Regions from separate parts of the Homo sapiens genome. Here all the other regions are linked to region 1. Evidence: promoter capture Hi-C in human tissues and cell types (Jung and others, 2019). All regions are on one chromosome and are shown on one strand. Each heading gives the region's core, a stretch centred on a gene start or on the middle of the fragment in contact. The rest is flanking DNA. Distances are from core to core; before and after follow the strand shown. Region 1 holds the start of BOK (BCL2 family apoptosis regulator BOK). Region 2 overlaps ATG4B (autophagy related 4B cysteine peptidase). Region 3 holds the start of MIR3133 (microRNA 3133).

Region 1 (4,795 bases), core at 1,512-4,011:
TTCCCCTGACAGAGGTACTTCAGGAACCATGGAGTTAGACCCCAAGGTTTACAGTCTGGCCATGCCCAGTCTTGCAGTGACTCCTTGGGCGAGATCTTTTCCCTCTCTGCATTTCTGTAATGCTATCTACAGGGAATCCCAAACCTGACTGCTCTTCAGAAATCTGAGGCGCACACTGTCCAAGGAGCTCTAGACTCTACATTAAAGAGTTCATTAAAATGCACCCTCAGATTTTACTGTACTACAGCTTTTCTGAAAAAGCAGCTAACAATGACTGAGCACTTACTACATGACATGGATTAAGAATTCAGTCCTCCCAGGCTGGGCGCTGTGGCTTACGCCTATAATCCCAGAACTTTGTGATGCCAAGGCAGGTAGATCACGAGGTCAAGAGATCGAGACCATCCTGGCCAACATGGTGAAACCCCCTCTCTACCAAAAATACAAACAATTAGCCGGGCGTGGTGTCAGGTGCCTGTAGTCCCAGCTACTCGGGAGGCTGAGGCAGGAGAATCGCTGGAGCCCAGGAGGCGGGGTTGCAGTGAGCCGAGTTTACGCCATTGCACTCCAGCCTGGCAACAGAGCGAGACTCCGTCTCAAAAAAAAAAAAAAAAAAAAAGAATTCAGTCCTCTCAACAATCCTAGGAGGTAGGTATTATTATTCTTCCTACTTCCCAGACAGGAAAGTCATAGCAGATAGAAGTTCCATAGCTTTCCTAGCTTCTGGTAATGTTCCTGACAGGTTTCGGTATTAAAATTACATTGACCTCATAAAATGAGTTGGGAAATACTCCCTCATTTTTAGTCTCTGTGCAGGTTTGTATGAGACTGGTGGTATTTTTTTAACTGTTGAGAAGAATTTCTCAATGAAACCATCTGAACCTAGAATTTTCTTTGTGGGAAGATTTTAAATTACAGATTCAATGCATTTAATTGGTGTAGGACTATCCAGATTTTCTATTTCTTTTAGTGTCAGTTTTGGTAAGTTGTGTATCATCTAAAATTTCAAATGCACTGTCAAAAAGTCCTCCATACTATCTTTTTATCCCTTTAATGCTTGTAGTATCTACAGTGATGTCCTCTTTTTCATTCTTGATAGTGAAATTTGTGTTATCTTTTTTCTTACTCAATCTTTCTGGGGATTTATCAGTTCTATTAATCTCTTCAAAGAACCAATTTTTGGCTTTGTTGATTTTCTCTATTTTTTGCTTTATTCCATTAATTTCTGCTCTTATTTTTATTATTTCCTTTCATCTTTAGTTTTATTGTTCTTTTCTAGCTTCTTGAGTGGAAGCTTAGAGCAGTAATTTTATTTTTCTTTTTCCTTTTTTTTTTTTTTTTTTGAGATGGAATCACACTCTGTTGTCCAGGCTGGAGTGCAGGTGGGATGATCTCTGCTCACTGCAACCTTCGCCTCCCAGGTTCAAGCAATTCTCCTGCCTCAGCCTCCTTAGTAGCTGGGATTACAGACACCTGCCACCACACCCAACTCATTTTTTGTATCTCTAGTAGAGACGGGGTTTTCACCATTTTGACCCGGCTGGTCTCAAACTCCTGAGCTCAGGTGATCTGCCCACCTAGGCCTCCCAAAATGCTGGGATTACAGGTCTGAGTCATTTCACCTGGCCTAATTTTCAATCCTTCTTCTAAAGCTATCAAATTTCCTCTAAGCAGTGTTTTAGTTGCACTGTACAGCATTTGATATGTCTTATTTTTCACTGTTCTTGTCAACATATTTTAATCTTCCACTGTGATTATTGACCCATTGATTATTTAGAAGTGTGACATGTAATTTCCAAGCATTTGCAGATTTTCCAGTAATTTTTCTGTTATTGACTTTTAATTCAGAGAGGACACACTGTAAGATTTCAATCCGTTGAGATTTGCTGAGACTTGTATAAGGTCCATGATATGGTCTATTTCGATAAACATCCTATGTGCACATGGGAAGAATAAGTATTTTATAGTGTTGTACACACGTGAATTAGGCCAAGTTGGTTAATCCTATTGTTCAAACTGTGTGAGGTTGATTCAAGGATAAAGAAATAAACCAGTGGGATAGAGTTCCGAGACACACACACACACACACACACACTCTTCAGCTGATTTATGTTGAGATGTTGGGGACTCCTCCAATTCGGTGGAAAAAAAATGATGCTTTTCAATAAATGATGCCAGGTCAATTGGATATCTACACGAAAAAAAATGAGCTCTAGCCCCGTACCACACCATTCACAATAATTAATATGTAATCAATCATAGATCTAAATATGAGCCCTAAAACAAGCTTCTAAAAGGAAATACAGGAGGATATCCCAATAAAAAGGTACTAACCATAAAGAAAATATTGATAAATTGGACATCACTAAGAGTAACTCCTGTTCATCCAAAGCAAAAGTAAACCACAAAATAGAGGAAGATATTTGCAATAACTTCAATAAATGCGAATCCAATAATCCATCTACAATACAAAGGGCATGCGTCCGGACCAAGAACACGTCTCCAGACTCTGGAAAGAACCTCTACGAACGAAGAAGACAACCCAATTTTCAAATGGACCCCGGGGAACACCCAGGCGGCTGGGGCTGGCTCTAGGTCCCCACTGCTCTGCCTTGCGGGGGCCGCTCCGGCCTGGTCGCCTTCTCCGGGCGCATCCAGGGAACTCGCTCGGTCCTCCTTAAGCGGGGAAGCTCGGAAAGCGTCTCCCCGACTCCGCCCCCAGGGTTGCCTTTCCCTTAGAAGGCCAAGCCCCAAGCCCAGCCTCTCGCCAGCTGGGAGTCGCGCGCTGCCCACCTCGCTGCCCAGGCCCCCGACGCCGCGGCAGGAGCCCCCCAAGAGCGCGGGAAGCCCCGTGGACCTGGCGCTCCCGGCTCGGGCGTGGACGGGGCGGGCGCCGGGGCGGGGCGCGCGTCCTCGCGGGTCTGAATGGAAGGGTCGAGGTCGTCGTCGGCGGCGAGCAGATCCTGAAGCCAGAACTCCACCCCGGCGCCCGCGCCATGCGGCGGGAGAGGTGAGCGCGGCGGGCGTGGCGTCCGTGCCGGGGTGCCCGGGGTGCCACGGGAACGGCGAGGCCGGGGACACGCGCGCAGGACGCCAGCGGCGGAGGTGGGCGGCCCCGGGCCGGGGCGGGGAGGGCCGGGTCCTGGCAGTCGCCGTGGGGGACGCGCTGGGCTGTGCCCTCCGCCCCCGCCGCCCACGCACTCGTCTTCGAGGGCGGGCCCGGCGGCCCCGGAGCAAACCGCCGTCTCCCCGCGGCCCCACCGGTCCCTGGCAGCCTCGGGGAATGTCTGTAGCTGAATTCGGGCTCTGAAAGAAGGTGGCGCTGGGTTTTTAAAGATTTGGGGCACAAAAAACGAGAGCGGACCCGGCGCCGGCTACGGCCCTTCCCGAGGGCCACGCCCAGCCCGGCGCCCCGCGCGCCCCGTTCCCCGCGCCGCCTCCCTCCACCCGGCTGAGCGCTTGTGCCCGCAGGTGCGGCGCCCCCCACCCGCGTCGCCGCCATGGAGGTGCTGCGGCGCTCCTCGGTCTTCGCCGCCGAGATCATGGACGCCTTTGACCGCTCGCCCACAGACAAGGAGCTGGTGGCCCAGGCCAAGGCGCTGGGCCGGGAGTACGTGCACGCGCGGCTGCTGCGCGCCGGCCTCTCCTGGAGCGCGCCCGAGCGTGCCGCGCCGGTCCCGGGACGCCTGGCTGAGGTGTGCGCGGTGCTGCTGCGCCTGGGTGAGTGCGCCCTGGTGGGATCCCCAGCTGCGCCTCCTCCCCTGCTGGGCCGCAGCCTCCCTCCGAGGCCGAGATGGGGGTCCGGCCCAGGGGCGCCCACCCCCTGCCTGGGACGGCCAGGCGCTCGGGACAGGGCCACCCAGGCGGGTGCTCCCGGATCTGCCCTCTCAGGCCTCCCACGCCACAGGCCCCCCCATCAGCTGCCTGCTCAGCCCAGATTTCAGTCATGCTGGCCATAAACAATAGAAAGCTCCAGAAAGAATAATCTATTAGTGGGTGGCTAAGCTTCCACAGTGACCCTTGTTCTCAGCTGGGCACAGAAACCCTTTGTAGGAGCACGTGTCCCGATGTTTATTTTGGAAAACAGATTCTTGCTGTTACTGGCCGAGATCCCGCCCGCTGCCCTCTGGATTCCGAGGCCTCCGAGGCCCCCCCATTGGAAACTGCGCCCACCGGGCTGGGTAGCCAAAACCTCAGTATTCGTTGGTGCTGTGAGGACATCTGGGGGTGCTCGGTTCTGGGGTCACACACGGTCCACTGGCTGCCCCCACCGTCTCCAAGGTCTGGACCCAAGAGGGAGGGACCAGCCCCACTGTGACTGTCCAGTCCCCTCACCACAGCTGGGCTGTGGCCGTCACCTGGGAATGTTTATGTGATGCCCGAAGAGGGCACATGGGGCGCCTGTGGCTGAGCCCGGGAAGGGGAGGTGACAGCATAGGTGAAACTGAATCGGTGGCTCTCCAGGCAGGGGGTTGGAGTCGGAGGGCACGACCCCGTGAGGGGACACGCTGCCTCCTCTCAGGCTGGCGCTGGCATGGGCTCTAGGTGGCCCCTGCCCTTACGTGGTGGGCTGGGCCCAGAGAGCAAAGCTGTGTAGACCTGGCCTGCCCAGGAGTGTGTGTGGGGTGCAGACAGAATCCATGGGGACCAGCACAGAGCCTCCAGGAGGAGGTGGAGTCCCATCTGAGAAGTTCAGAAGGAGGGAGAGGTCTCTGGGTGGGAGCTAGGGGGTTGGTGGGGCTCCATGAGATCCGCCGCCTGCTGCTGCCTCTAGTCGGGCTCTGAGAATGACCCT
Region 2 (4,795 bases), core at 2,262-4,761, 91 kb after region 1:
TGAACTTAATGGAACACCTCTTATTCCCTTCACTCTGAAGTTGGCTTCCTTGCCTATAAAGTTTGGTGATAAACCTAAGAAATACACCTGCTGTGCATTTTACTGCGTCCGTGATGAAAATCCCTCAACTTCACAGCCGCTCAGGCCTCGTGACCCTGCTTTCAGAGGGAGCCTTTTTCCTTTTCTTCCTTATCTATACTTCTCTCATTCCTTTACCATTTATATTTTTAATATGGGAAACTAGACATCCTAGAAGTTTCTCAGCTTCCAGATTCTGTTACTGCAGACTGTTACTGATTCAACAATATGGTCCTTTTCCTGATGACATACGCCACATTCTTCTGAAGTACAGATGGTCTCCAAACTACCATGGTTTGACTTACAATTTTTTGACTTTACGATAGTGTGAAAGCAGTATGCATTCTATGGAAACCATACTTGACGTTTTGAATTTTGATCTTTTTCTGGGCTAGCAGTATGCCTCCAGATACTCTCGAGATGCCAGATAGCTCCTCGTCAGCCACATCATGAGAAGGGGGAATGACCCCTGCTCTACAGGGCACTGTGTTGCCAGCTGAGTTTGCCCAACTGTAGGCTAATGTAAGTGTTCTGAGCACATTTAAGGCAGGCTAGGCTAAGCTATGATGTTAGGTAGATTACGTGTATTCAATGCTTTTTTTTTTTTTTTTTTTGAGACAGAGTTTCACTCTCCCACCTGGGCTGGAATGCAGTGGCGCGATCTCAGGTCACTGCAGCCTCCGCCTCCTGGGTTTAAGCAATTCTCCTGCCTCAGCCTCCCGAGTAGCTGGGATTACAGGCACCTGCCACCATGCCCGAGTAACTTTTTGTGTTTTTAATAGAGATGGGATTTCACCATGTTGACCAGGCTGGTCTCCAACTCCTGACCTCAGGTGATCCACCCGCCTTGGCCTCCCCAAGTGCTGGGATTACAGGCATGAGCCCCTGTGCCTGGCCTCAGTGCATTTTTGACCTAAGTATTTTCAATTTACAATGGGTTTATTGGACATAATCCCATCCTAATTAAGGAACATCTGTAGTCTACAAAGAGATACTTGCCAGTGTTCATTTAGCTCTGCTGTACTTTAAATAAAAGATATGTGTATCTTTAGTTCAAAGCTGGTGCCTTGGAACGGTGTCAAACATGAGAAGAATGTTCCAACAGCAAGATGGAATCATTGTCTTGCAGTGTTGAAATTAGACCGGTGGTGGCCAGGCGCAGTGGCTCACGCCTGTAATCCCAGCACTTTGGGAGGCCGAGGCGGGAGGATCATGAGGTCAGGAGATTGAGACCATCCTGGCTAACACAGTGAAACCCCGTCTCTACTAAAAAAAATACAAAAAATTAGCCAGGCGTGGTGGCGGGCGCTTGTAGTCCCAGCTACTCAGGAGGCTGAGGCAGGAGAATGGCATGAGCCGGGAGGCAGAGCTTGCAGTGAGCCGAGATCGCGCTACTGCACTCCAGCCTGGTGGGCGACAGAGTGAGACTCCGTCTCAAAAAAAAAAAAAAAAAAAAAGAAAAGAAATTAGACCGGTGGTGTTTTCATCCTTTTTCCTTGAGAATAAGTTTTCTGGATTTTAGTCTATATATTGAATAAAGCCTACAGGTCAAAGAATAGTAGGGACTTCTGAAGATTCAGGAGTGGCTTTAGAGAGGTAGCAGGGACATCATGATGTTTTTCAGCTCTTTAAAAAGATAGGAGTGGGCCGGATGCTGTGGCTCACGCCTGTAATCCCAGCACTTTGGGAGGCCGAGGTGGGTGGATCACTTGAGGTCAGGAGATCGAGACCAGCCTGGCTAACACAGTGAAACCCTGTCTCTACTAAAAATACAAAAATTAGCCGGGCATGGTGGCAGATGTCTGTAATCCCAGCTACTCGGGAGGATGAGGCAGGAGAATTTCTTGAACCCGGAAGGTGGAGGTTGCAGGGAGCCAAGATCATGCCACTGCACTTCAGCCTGGGCAACAGAGTGAGACTCCATCACAAAAGAATAAAAAAAAGGCATGGACCTTAATTCATCCTAATTCAGTTTTTGTAATCATGTGCAGAAACAAGTAACATATATATAAAAAGGCAGGAGAGAATGTAAACTTGGACTTTATTTATTCACAGTCACCAAGCAGTTTGGTTGATAATGTCTCTGAAAGCATGGACAAGTGAAATATGTAAGAGCAGAGCTCTTGGGGGCCAGGTGCAGTGGCTCATGCCTGTAATCCCAGCCTTCGGGAGGCTAAGGCAGGTGGATTGCTTGAGCCTAGGAGTTTGAGACCAGCTTGACAACATGATTAGACCTCATCTCTACAAAAAATACAAGAATTAGCTGGGTGTGGTGGCACATGCCTGTAGTCTCAGCTGCTCAGGAGGCTGAGACCGGAGAATTGATTGAGCCTGGGAGTTTGAGGCTGCAGTAAGCTGTGATTACACCACTGTACTCCAGCCTGGGTGACAAAATGAGTCCCGGTCTCAAAAAAAAAAAAGAAAAAAAAACAGGAGCAGAGCTCTTGGACAAAGCCCTGCTGTGGAAAGCTTGCTTCATCTGGCTGCAGCCGCTCCACAACGCCCGTCATCTTGCTCAGGAAGCCACAGCACTACTCTAGGAAAGGGGCAGAGAGGGGCCTGGGTCTCCCACAGCTGAGAATCCTTTAAACAGTGCCTGTAGGGCCCTCTATTGTGGATTTGGTAGTTCTGCCTGCACCGAGGGAGATGCTTGCAGGTGCTTCTGAACCCTGTGTTTGGGAATTAGCTGCGCATACAATTAAGGCTTTTGGGTATAGTAAAATTTGTGTGCCTTTGACCCTGTGGTTCTGAGTCCTCGATGTTAATGACAGAGCGGACATTGCAGCCCTTCTGTCTGCCAGCCAGCACCTCATTGGAAGTGTTTCATTGAAACGTCACACCCATATGCTGAGGCTGTCCTGTTGTTATCCCATTTTATGGATGAGGGAACATTCACACTTAGAAGTTAAGTGAGTGGCCCAGGAAACTACAGTTTACCAGTACCCAAGCTGGGCTTTAAATTCTGACTGCCCCCTGCCTCCCCAAGGGGATTGTGCACAGCACAGAAGTTCACACACGATGCTTTTTAGTATCAGCTTAGGTGGAGATCTGTGTTTATGTAGAATGCTGAGGAAACCACAGGCATAGTATGATTTCACGTACGAACCTGTGCATAAAGACTTCTGGAAAGAGTCATTGCTGGGCAACGAGGCTTCACGTGATTTGTGTATTTTTGTAGTCTTCAGAATTTTTTATGATTAGCATATGTCATTCTTATTGAAGTGTGGGGTTGTTATCAAAAAGTAAATTTAGATGTGGGAGAAATTCATATGTGATTGATTTTCAAAAGATTGCTGTAAAGTTGCTGGTGAAGGATGAGTGATCAGACACCATCAGAGCTGGAGAGGCAGCAGATGGGAATTGTGTGTTCCCAGTTCCCTGAAGAGCAGCTGGAGAGAGATGCCTCTGGTGCCGCCCCAGAATACGCAATGGGCATCTCGCCACATGGGTGTTTGGGCTGGTGCATTGCTGCTGGCTGGCGCCTTCTTTTCAGGAACATTGTGGGACATGGGTATCCTCAGCCACAGTTCTGTGGACAGGAAGACCCTGGGCCTCTCTAGTTTCTTTCTTTCTTTTTTTTCTTTTTCTTTTCTTTTTCTTTTTTTTTTTTTTTTGAGATGGAGTTTCACTCTTGTCACCCAGGCTGGAGTGCAGTGGCACAATCTCAGCTCACTGCAACCTCCACCTTCTGGGTTCAAGTGATTCTCTTGGCTCAGTCTCCCTAGTAGCTGGGATTACAGGCGCCCGCCACCACGCCTGGCTAATTGTTGTACTTTTAGTAGAGACGGAGTTTCACCATGTTGACCAGGCTGGTCTCAAACTCCTGGCCTCAGGTGATCTGCCCACCTCGGCCTCCCAGAGTGCTGGGATCACAGGCATGAGCCACTGTGCCTGGCCTAGTTTCTTAATTGAAGTAAAACAGAGTAAGATGGCATGCAGGGCTAATCATTAGCCCAGCAGGTAAGCACCATGGCTCTGCAGCCAGCTGCCTCCTTAGAAAGTGGGGTGTTGCCCCATGGAAGTGGTGGCATGCTCTTCTGGTAGCATTGTTGAAATGAAAACAGGTTCAGTCCTTGATCACTAGGCTTTTTGTACCCGGGTACCTCTGGGGACTTGGCAGAGAGTTTGATCTCTCAGTGTCCAGGGGTTAACTTTCTACCTGAGAGTAGCACCCCATGCTTCTCCAGCACCTGCTCCTAACCAGGAAATTGGGGTAGACCAGAACCCCAGTCTTCCCAGCAGCTCAGTGTTTCTTGCCCCGGAGCATCTGCCTTCATCACAGTGACTCTGAACACGCTGCCATGGTGACATCTGGTAAACCTTAGGATGGCCATGGAAAACGACTCTTTGCCCTGTTTCTTCTTGGCTTCCCTTGCGTACAAGGATGAAGGAGGTGGTTTAACTTTATTTTTGTCCTTTACTTTTTAAGTCTAAAGTAAGTGCTTGAATCGGGTGGGTTTTCATTTTTTTGCTTTCTCACCCCTCAGGTTGGCCCCTAACTTGGCCTCTCACCCTCGTGTCAGCTGTTAGACACTGACTCAGTGGCTCAGAATATGAAAGGCTCAGGAAGTAGCATGCTGGCCCCACCTCCCTGTCCCCATACCTTAGCAGAGCAGCTGCCCAGCAGGGCCTCCTTCTCTTTCCTAAGAGTTTACTCCATCCATGGTGGGTGTCTTGGTAGGCCCGAGATACGAGAGGGAGTGCTGCTGTTACAAGA
Region 3 (4,795 bases), core at 1,055-3,554, 82 kb before region 1:
GCTTTGTGGCCAGGAAATAAGAGGGAGTCATGATAGAAACAAGGGAGAAGGTGGCCGGGCATGGTGGGTCACGCTTATAATCCCAGCACTTTGGGAGGCCAAGGTGAGTAGATCATCTGACGTCAGGAGTGGGAGACCAGCCTGGCCAACATGGTGAAACCCTGTCTCTACTAAAAATACAAAAAATTAGCCAGGCGTTGTGGCGGGCATCTGTAGTCCCCGCTACTCGGGAGGCTGAGGCACAAGAGTTGCTTGAACTTGAGAGGCGGAGGTTTCAGTGAGCCAAGATCGTGCCACTGCACTCCAGCCTGGGAGACAGAGTGAGACCCTGTCTCTAATAATAATAATAAATAAATAAATAAATAAATAAATAAATAAATAAAAAGAAAGAAGGGGGAAAGTGGTCCCCATGAGTGATTCCAGCAAGGAGGATGCAGACCCTGTGCTCCAGGCATCATCAGAGTTGGGAGCAGGCTCAGCTATGCTACGCCACCACTCTCAGCATGGCCTCAGAGCTGGGCAGACCACTCTTAGTATAACTTTGTGTTTTAAGTTTCCTGTCCAGATTATAAACTTTCTCTTATCTTTGCTTGAACTATAAGATTAGCATCTGTTCCTGGTTAAAAGAGAAAGTTACAATTGCTTTGAAGGTGCAAATCATTTAGCCTTTAAAGTACAATAAATCATTTTCCTTTAAGAGCAAATACTGCCTTACCCATAACATTAAATGGTTATTTACAAAGCCTATCCTCTTTGCCAAACCAGAATATGGGCTGGCCAACAGTTTGGGTTGAACAACCTGAAGGCCTCAGGGGTATCTGCAGGAGCAGGCGCCTGGTGGCTGCACATAGTAGGCAGCAGTCCTATAAGTCCTATAAGGCAGGGGTCCCCAGTGCCCATGGCTATGGACTAGTACCAGTCCAGTCCATAGCCTGTTAGGAACCAGGCCACACGGCAGGAGGTGAGTGGCGGGCAAGTGAAGCTTCTCTGTATTTACAGCCACTCCCCATTGCTTGCATTACCACCTGAGCTCCTCCTCCTGTCAGATCAGCAGCAACATTAGATTCTCATGGGAGCACAAACCCTATTGTGAACTGCACATGTGGGGGATCTAGTTTGTATGCTCCTTGTGAGAATCTAACAAATGCCTGATGATCTGAGGTGGAACAGTTTCATCCCCAAACCATTCCTACCACCTCTGGTCTGTGGAAAAATTGTCTTCCATGAAACCCATCCCTGGTACCAAAAATGTTGGGGACCGCTGCTATAAGGAGTCGAGTAGGATGTACCTCTAATTAGAACTGCCTTTTAGAATGCTGGTTCCTGTCACAAGGTGGTGGGTGGAGGGTGCTGTGCACACCACTGCCTGTACACCTGTACTGAGGGGTCTCTCCACACAGACGCCCTGAAAGCCATCACAGAGGTGACCACCACACTACAGCACATTCTCATCCGGCTGGAGAACCTGCAGAAGCTAACGGAGCTGCAGCGGGACCTGGTGGGCATAGAGAACCTCATTGCTCCTGGCAGGGTGAGTGACCTTGCTCTGGGAATGTTTTTTGAGCTACTTTGGTTTTTCAATTGAGATATAATTTACATACCACAAAAGTCACCATTTTAAAATGTATAATTTTGGCCAGGCACAGTGGCTCATACCTGTAATCTGAATACTTTGGGAGGCTGAGGTGGGAGGATCGCTTGAGCCCAGGAGTTCAAGACCAGACTGAGCAACACAGGGAAACCCCATTTCTATGAATTAAAAAAAAAAAAAAAAAAAAAGAATTGCTGGGTGTGGTGGCGCACACCTGTGGTCCCAGCTACTCAGGAGACTGAGATGGGAGGATCGCTTGAGCCAAGGAGGTCGAGGCTGGAGTAAGCCCTGATCACAGCACTGCACTCCAGCCTGACAACAGAGCAAGACCCTGTCTCTGTTAAAAATGAGTAAATACAGCCAGGCACAGTGGCTCACGCCTGTAATCCCAGCACTTTGGGAGGCCAAGGCAGACAGATCACCTGAGGTTGGGAGTTCGAGACCAGCCAGACCAACATGGAGAAACCCTGTCTCTACTAAAAATACAAAAAATTAGCAGGGCATGGTGGCACATGCCTGTAATCCCAGCTACGCAGGAGGCTGAGGCAGGAGAATCGCTTGAACCCGGGAGGTGGAGGTTGCAGTGAACCAAGATCACGCCATTGCACTCTAGCCTGGGTAACATGAGCGAAACTCCGTCTCAAAATAAAATAAATAAAATAAAATAAAATAGGTACATATATACATACATACACACATACATACATACAAAAAATATATAATTGAGTGGGTTTTAGTATCTTCACAAGGTTATGTAGCCATCAATGTCGAATTCAGAACATTTTCATCACCCCAAAGTGAAACCCCCACAGCAATTAACAGTCACTTCCCATCACTATTTTGAAGGGAACCCTGTTCTCAGGAGACTCTGTTCTGAGGTAACCCTGTTCTGGGTGGGGATGCTGTTCTGTGGGGACCTCGTTCTGCTCCCTAACCCCTGGCAACCACTGATCTGCTTTCTGTCTCTAAGGAGTTACCTGTCTGGGCATTTCATAGAAATGGTATCACACATTAATGTGGCCTCTTGTGACTCTTCTTTCACTCAGAATAATCTTTTCAAGGTTCATTCATGTTCCTTTTTTTTTTTTTTTTTTTTTATTTGAGACAGAGTCTTGCTCTGTCACCAGGCTGGGGTGCAGTGCCGCGATCTTGGCTCACTGCAACCTCCGCCTCCCAGGTTCAAGTGATTCTCCTGCCTCAGCCTCCCAAGTAGCTGGGACTACAGGCACATACCACTATGCCCAGCTAATTTTTGTATTTTTAGCAGAGACAGGGTTTCACCATGTTGGCCAGGATGGTCTCAAGCTCTTGACCTTGTGATCCACCCACCTTGGCCTCCCAAAGTGCTGGGATTACACGCATGAGCCACCGTGCCCGGCCTCATGTTCCTTTTTGTGGCTGAATCATACTCCATCATGCATGTATCACACGTCTCTCCACTCATCTGATGGACACTGGGTTATTTCCACTTCTTGGCTGTTACGAATAGTGCTGCTGTGGACGTTCATGTACAAGTTTTGTGTGGACTTATGTTTTCAGTTTTGAGTATATACCATATACAGGTTCATATGGTAATTCCATGTTTAACATTTTGAGGAACTGCCAAACTGTTTTCCAAAGTGACTGAACCATTTTTCATTCCCACCAACTCGTATGAGACTTCCAGTTTCTCACATCATGTGTCACTTTTTGGTTCTAGCCATTTTAGTGAGTGTGTAATGCTGTCTTGTGTGGTTACAATTTGTATTTCCCTGATAGCTAATGATATTGAGCATCTTTTCATGTGCTTATTGGCCATTTGTAGGCCTTTTTTGGAGAAATGTCTATTCAAATCCTTTGCCCACCTTTTATTTTATTCAGAAATTGTAAAGAACTCTTAAAACCCAATAGTAAAAAGACAACCTGTTGAGTTTTAAGAGTTCTTTATATATTCTGAATGCTAGACCTTTATCAGACTATGATTTGCAAACATTTTCTCCCATTGTGTGGGTTGTCTTTTCACTGTCTTGATGTGGCCTTCATTTACAACATGAAAGCTTTTAATTTATCTATTTTTTTTCTTTAGTTGCTTGTGTCTTAGATGTTATATCTAAGAAACTATTGTCAGCCAAGTGTAGCGGTGCACACCTATAGACCCAGCTACTCGGGAGGCTAAGGTAGGAGCATTGCTTGAGCCCAGGAGTTCAACGTTGCAGTGAGCTATGATCCCACCACTGCACTTTAGCCTGGACAACAGAGTGAGACCCTGTCTCAGAAAAAAAGGAATTAATGCGAGCACTGCCACCTGCCTGGGGCAGCCTTAGGGCAGGGCTGGCGGGGGCGACCTGTGCTGCTGCAGTGCAAGACTCAGAGTGCCGTGGCCCAGCACCCGGTAGCTTGTCCAAATGGCTCTGGCTCAACATTGGTGGCACCTACTTTCTCACCACCCAGCAGATGCTGTGCCAGGACCTGAAATACTTCCTGTACTCCTTGTATCAGGCTAACCCCGACAAGGATGAAACTGTTGCCTATTTAATGGACAGAGACCCCACCTATTTTGGGCCTGTGTTGAACTACCTGAGACGTGGCAAGCTGGTGATTAACAAAGACCTTGTGGAGGAAGGAGTGTTGGAAAAAGCAGAATTTTACAGTATCACTTCATTAATAAAACTTGTAAAGGACAAAATTAGAGAACAAGAGAGCAAAACATCACAGGTGCCCATGAAGCATGTGTACCACGTGCTTCAGTGTCAGGAGGAGGAACTCACACAGGTGGTGTCCACCATGTCCGACAGCTGGAAGTTTGAACAACTGGTCAGCAATGGCTCTTCTTACAACTATGGGAATGAAGATCAGGCCAAGTTCCTCTATGTGGTGTCCAAGAAACTTCACAACACCCCATACAGTATGGCCAGTGAACCCAGAAAGAAGGCCAAGATTTTGCAAGAACAAGGTTCAAGGATGTGAGGGACACAGTATTGACAGCTGAAAAAATGATTTACTCTTTCCCAAGATGCAATGAACTACCATGTCCAGGAAGCTTGGCTGCGAGAAGGAACCTGCTTTTGATCATTTTTCTAGAGATCTGGGTGTGAATCCTTTTGTGCTTCTGAGGTGGGTGGTGAGAGACAGGTCCAGCTGTCCAAGGCCAGGTGTCCCCAAGGGGAGGAGCATTCTGGCCAGGTGGGTACTATCTCTTGAGGGGGGCCAGAGACTGAGGCAGAT

The links. The method cuts DNA at HindIII sites, captures the fragments that hold promoters and counts their contacts. A contact is called where the count stands out against the background at its distance.
Region 2: a fragment that was not itself captured here is called in contact with the fragment with the promoter of BOK in region 1 in 2 of the 25 tissues and cell types used here (IMR-90 fibroblasts and hippocampus).
Region 3: a contact is called between a fragment that was not itself captured here and the fragment with the promoter of BOK in region 1, in 3 of the 25 tissues and cell types used here (IMR-90 fibroblasts, lymphoblastoid cells and mesenchymal stem cells).

The regions. Positions count from the first base shown.
Region 1 is chr2:241,555,984-241,560,778 of GRCh38, forward strand. BOK (BCL2 family apoptosis regulator BOK) reads left to right here and starts at 2,762. Exons shown (of 5, transcript NM_032515.5): 1 at 2,762-3,010; 2 at 3,472-3,720. The coding sequence starts at 3,501. BOK-AS1 (BOK antisense RNA 1) reads right to left here and starts at 3,160. Exons shown (of 2, transcript NR_033346.1): 1 at 2,794-3,160. RefSeq lists silencers at 3,425-3,504, 3,535-3,604, 3,655-3,784. The HindIII fragment of the contact is 1,356 bases long and covers 1,791-3,146 here.
Region 2 is chr2:241,646,109-241,650,903 of GRCh38, forward strand. The region is part of intron 1 of ATG4B (autophagy related 4B cysteine peptidase); the gene reads left to right. Among named protein-coding and RNA genes, the nearest start is that of ATG4B, 11 kb to the left of the region's middle. The HindIII fragment of the contact is 8,495 bases long and covers 1-4,795 here.
Region 3 is chr2:241,474,457-241,479,251 of GRCh38, forward strand. It overlaps FARP2 (FERM, ARH/RhoGEF and pleckstrin domain protein 2), which reads left to right. Exons shown (of 27, transcript NM_014808.4): 19 at 1,401-1,531. MIR3133 (microRNA 3133) reads left to right here and starts at 3,449; the gene lies at 3,449-3,526. It also overlaps the pseudogene KCTD5P1. The HindIII fragment of the contact is 3,627 bases long and covers 492-4,118 here.